Linked DNA regions of Homo sapiens: region 1 is linked to region 2. The links are contacts of gene promoters, found by promoter capture Hi-C in human tissues and cell types (Jung and others, 2019). All regions are on one chromosome and are shown on one strand. Each heading gives the region's core, a stretch centred on a gene start or on the middle of the fragment in contact. The rest is flanking DNA. Distances are from core to core; before and after follow the strand shown.

Region 1 (2,700 bases), core at 161-2,660, 520 kb before region 2:
CTGTTGTTTACAATAATAATAATGCTATAACAGATATCTTCATGCATATAACCTTTTCAGATAATGTATTGCCTCTCTGGGGAGACTTTTTTGAGGTGGAAATCACTGGGTCAAAGAGCAAGAACACTTTTAAAGGTGTGATACACAATGCCCAACAGTTATAACTATTTATTGACCCCACCAGGAATGTGCACAGACAGACCCACAGTGCCTCTAGGACTCCCTGTTATGTTTTATGTATTTGAATTAGCGAACAGTTACATTTTATTATTTTTGTTTGACTTGTACTTCTTTCATTACTAGTGACGTTGGGCATTTTCCTATTTATAAATTAAGAATTACCTATTTGTCTCCTTTATTAATGTGTGTATTACTACAGTCATCATTTTTTCTATTAACTTTATGAGCCCTTTAGATAATTACAGTGAATTCTAGGGTGAGCCACCCAGACCCCCCTTGAAGATGGATGCTGTCATTCTCACAGCTGCCAGGAGGATGAGCTGCTGACTTTTGCAACTGCTTCCCTCTCTGCAGATGCCTTCAGGAAAGGGAGCTGCCTTGCCCATGGTTAGGCTCCCAATCAGGGGCCACCCAAAGATCCATCCAGTGGAACACCAACCCCCTTGCCTTAGTTTGGGATGATTCTGAAAGACAAGCTGAGGCCTCAGTCACTCTTGCGTCCCAGGCCAGCTTTGCTCTCTGCTCAGTCCTGCAGCCCTCACTGCCTCACAGATACTGTTTCTAGAACCCTCCCTAATAAACTTCTTGTGTGCAAAGCTTCATCTGAGGTGGTTTCCAGGGAACCTGATCTAAGACAATTGATCATTTCTCATTGACTTTTCATTACTTCCCAGCCATTTTTTTTGCAAATATTGAATTTCAAAATATCATGCAAACACATCTGTATTATTTCTATGTGATTTCTTCTAAACTTAAAAGATGCCACCCCCAACACACACACCAGTGGTTTCACTAATACTCAGTTGTATTCTCTTCTAGCTTTTCGTTTTTGTCTTTTTCTTTTTTTTTTTTCTTTTTCACAGATTCTTCTGGCTTTTCTATGGTTGCCATTTTATTCTTGGCTTCTAATTCTAATGAAATTCATTTTTAGTGAAGGATTTGAAGCAAATGAGTAAATGCCATTTGTTGACGATGTCTCTCTCGTATCATTCATTTGCAATGCCTATCCTTCATTATATATTAAATGGAGGCAATGTTCTCACCATATTCTGCAGCTGTAAGTAGACAGCTGAGAAACCACTGCTTCAAAATGATTTCTGAAGCTGTCCACAATCTCCTCCATGTGTGTGGGCTTTTCAAATGTTCCTGCCCAGGCAGTGGAGACTTTGGGCCAAGCTCTGGCCTCTTTTCCCCATCAGCACAGCCCAGCACGTCACCATGTTTAAGATGAAGCCTGGATCCCAACGCTGAATGAACCTCACTGATTTCCTAGGAAAATTGCCCATACATTAGTGAGCTGGTAACTTTGCCCCCAGTACCAAATGGATCTTTATAGTCAACATTGATGTCCACATGGATAGCCAGATTGCCAAGAAAACATTCACAATTACCTTCCTTCCTTCCTTCCTTCCTTCCCTCCTTCCTTCCTTCGTTTTTATTTTGAGACAGGGCCTGCTCAGTCGCCCAGGCTGGAGTGCATTGGCACAATCACGGGCTCACTGCGGCCTTGATCTTCCAGGCTCCAGCAATCCTCCCACCTCAGCCTCCTGAGTAGCTGGGACTACAGGCATGTGCCACCATGCCTGGCTAATTTAAAAAAAAAATGTTTTTATAGAGACAAAGTCCCACTATGCCGCCCAGGCTGGTCATGAACTCCTGGCCTCAAGCAATCCTGCTGCCTCGGCCTCCCAAAATGTTGGGACTACAGGCTTGAGCCACCATGCCTGGCTTATGCTTCTTAATTAAATCAAATATTATAAATGAAAAATAGAAAAAAAGAGTGTTAAGGTCAGGGTTTCCTCGTCCAATAAGCACGCTTTTTGTATGAATAATATACTCTTAGTTCAGTCAGCACTTCCGTTTTGCCAGGCAGGCAGGAGGCTTACTTCAAAACCTCCCAGTGTATTTGGTGCCAACAAGAATTTTTTATTCAGTTCTGTCTTCACAGCCTCAGCCAATGGGTACGTTTACATGTGTGCATTTTTTCCCCATCAGTGTTCATGAGAAATCTATTTATAACTTTTCCCAAACTAGAATTTCTGAACAGATTTGGGTGGAATTCACACATTTAAAGCTTAGGTGCGGTGCGAACAGCCCGCGTAACCAAGCAAGGGGCCGTAAAACTCAAAGACTTTGGTGTCCGCAAAGCTCCTCCATGCTCTAGGAGCCGTGCACGCCTGCGCAGCCCATCCTCCTCCTGGGCTGGGGCTCTGGGCTCTGAGGGTGCAGTGCACTGGAGTGTGGGGTCTCGTCTTTACAGTGTCTCCAGTGAGTGGATACAGTACTGCTTTGGCCCGCTCTGAAGGGGTCTCCCCCAGCATGCGGACAGAAAGGTGGAAGCACTTCCTGACTCCGGCTCCTCCGGACCCCGAGTGCACTCGTGCACGCCACACTCACCTCTTCATCTCAGGGTCCCCAGCGCTGCAGCCCATGAGTTGGAGGCATTAAGGGAGGGTGATGAGGCCAGCGGTCTGGGCTTTCTCTTCTCACCAGTGCACCCCTGTGTGTCCTACTAGAGAG
Region 2 (2,700 bases), core at 102-2,601:
TACATGACTGCAGATGCAGGCTCATTTCAACTTTAGGATTAGAGGTAATTCCGAACCATTACATACACAGCACTGGATCTGCAACACACTTCACCTTAGTTCGCAGTTTAACCACGGGTGTCCAGTGGAAATTACAATCCCGGTGACTACACTGCTTTAAATGTTTCCTAAGGTTTCAACGAGTGCAACAGTAACTTCCTATCCCAGACAGCGTCTTACTGTTATTACTAAAACAGCTGTCAGCTAAGCTTCGCATACCTCTTTGTACAACCGTTTATTCAACGCTTTGGGATCTGTAAGGATGCGTCACTCCACATCACTCCTCAAAACGAGATCTAAGAACCTGACGTGCTCCAGGGGTCTTGAAGCATCACAAGTGGGTACTTGAAAAACGATGACGGGAACTGCCTGTCCAATGCGGCAAGGTTATTTTACACTGGCATTTAAGACAGAACTGTAGAGTGGCTGCTCTTTCCCCGGACACTACTAAAGCAGCAATTTCCCCTTCTTGATTTCATCCACCTCTCCCAGGACCCGGGTACCTCCGACGCTCCCGGCCCGAGCGGCCGCGGCAGACTCCCCGGCGTCGGCGCACGCTCGGCGGCTGGCGGCGGGAACGCGCGGCGGGCCGGGCGCGCCCCCGCCCCCGCGGGTCCGACCGCCGCACGCCAGCGGCGCCCTCTCGGCCGCGCACACTCACACTCGCACGCACACGCTCCTCCGGCCCCGCCATGTTCCGGGAGGCGGCGGCAGCCCAGCCCCGCCAGCCGCGGTGAGGGGCGCCCGCGACGAGGCCAGCTCGCGGCCCTCCGCCCGGCCCCCGCCCCGCCCCGCGCAGCGCCCCCGCCCAGTTGGCGGCTCCCACCTGCGCCGCGGCTCCTCGCGACGCCGGGAGGGGCGGCGGCGGGCGGGGCCCCGGCGGACCCGCGCCGGGGGGCACTAACGGCCTGTCACTGTCAGGCGAGCTACGGCTCGGGCCAGGCTGGGCGGGCGGCGCGTCGGGACCGGGGGGGGCGGGCAGGGCGCGTCCCCTACCTTGCTCTGGGGAGGGGGAACGGGAGCAGCGCAGAACTGAGGGGATCTCCTCCCTGGCGCCGGGGACAAGCTCGAAACCGCGCCCCTCCTTCCTCCTTTCCTGTCGCCACGCCCCCCTCACCCGTACGGACCCGAGGCAAGGCCGGCGCAGGAGGCTTCACCCCCGGAACGAGTGCTTCGGCGTAGCCGTCGCTGTCGTTGTCTTCGTCGCCGCTGCAGCCGCCTGTAAAGCCGCCGGAGCCGGGCTTGAAAACATCTCCGGTCTCGGTCCGTCTCTCACCACAGCCTCCTCGCTCCCAGGACAGCGTCGCCCCGCGATTGGCTGCGACGCGAGCACGTGACACCCGCGGACACGTGACTACCGCGGGCACGGGACGGGCGGCGTGACCGCCCCGCCCCCCGGCGCCCGCCCCTCCTGCTGCTCAGCCAGGCTCCGCGAGCCGCAGGGCGGGGAAGCGGGACGTACCAAGCGGCAGGCGGCGGAGGGGTGCGGGCCGGAACTCCGCCCTTCGTGCTGGTCGGTCTCCACGCCCCACTCGGACTAGTGTCACCGCCTCCCCGCCGCAGACACTATCCGACAAAGGAGGGGGAATCAAAGGCTGGGCGAAGAGGCAGGGCAGGCGCCGGTGACGCTGCTGGGCAAGCGGGCTCTGCAGTAGCATTTGTGGCGACCGTGGCAGTGGCTGTGACTGGAAGCTTCTGGAAATGGCGGCGATGAGGACCCCCACATAGGGTATTCACCTGTTATTTTTACACGGGGTGGGTGGACGAGCGTGATCCAACTCAGGCAAAATGACGCTGCGACCGCAGCCCGAGGACTAGGCGAAGTTCCCCCGCTAAGCCGGCGGCGGCCGTCTGGCCCCGCACCAGGCCGGAGAAGCTGCACCTACGCCCAGAGCCCGCGGCCCCCCGCCTCAGGTGGGGCCCTGGGCCCCGCCCCGAAAGCGCGGTAGCGTGCACCTGCCCTGGCACCAGGGGGTCTAGAGCGCGTCCCCTCCCAGCCACGCCTTCCAGTGGCCTTTTTAAAGAGGAATTCAGTGCACCCTCCCACACGTAGTGTTGGGGATTTGAGAGGGAGCTGCTCAGGTACTAGGAAGGGTGCCGGAGGAAAATTGACCGTCGCAGCGTGGCAGCAGCGTGTACTCACTCCCTTCTGGGCGCGTTATTTACGTAGAGGTTAATCTGCAACAACAGCGTCTGTTTATGACTTAGTGCATGCAGTTACAAGTTTATGTTACACTGTCCTTTAACGTCTTGATGAACTGAGGGTTCAGGTGTGATCACAGCAGATGAAGTGACATTCAGACCTGACAGGGACGGCGAGGTCCCATCAAATTACTATGTAAAGCATAAACCTGCATTAAAGATCAGGAGTTTTTCCTTTCCTGGGTTCCTGATTTCTCCCACCTACAAATCTTTAGGGTCAACAAGACTAGAAAAAGAGCACCTTATGGCTAGAGGTGGAATAGTGTTACATTTAACTTGGTTATTTATGATGTGAAATACAAAGAAAAAAACAGTCGCCTATGAGAAAGTCAGGAGAGCTCCAGGGTAGGACATTTTCATTGTTACTTTTTTGTGCCACTTGGAAAATTAACTGTTGTTTACCTTCTCTCAATTAAAAAAAAAATCTTAAAGACATACTTAAAAATAATCGTTATAGCC

The links. The method cuts DNA at HindIII sites, captures the fragments that hold promoters and counts their contacts. A contact is called where the count stands out against the background at its distance.
Region 1: a contact is called between a fragment that was not itself captured here and the fragment with the promoter of ANKRD12 in region 2, in 1 of the 25 tissues and cell types used here (lymphoblastoid cells).

What each region holds. Positions count from the first base shown.
Region 1 is chr18:9,659,586-9,662,285 of GRCh38, reverse strand. No RefSeq gene overlaps it. Among named protein-coding and RNA genes, the nearest start is that of LINC02856, 15 kb to the right of the region's middle. The HindIII fragment of the contact is 3,341 bases long and covers 1-2,700 here.
Region 2 is chr18:9,135,432-9,138,131 of GRCh38, reverse strand. ANKRD12 (ankyrin repeat domain 12) reads right to left here and starts at 1,351. Exons shown (of 13, transcript NM_015208.5): 1 at 1,167-1,351. It overlaps NDUFV2-AS1 (NDUFV2 antisense RNA 1), which reads left to right and starts at 1,412. Exons shown (of 3, transcript NR_110772.1): 1 at 1,412-1,768. RefSeq lists silencers at 584-633, 674-1,073, 1,284-1,633, 1,984-2,073, 2,076-2,249 and enhancers at 1,204-1,253, 1,744-1,793. The HindIII fragment of the contact is 7,523 bases long and covers 991-2,700 here.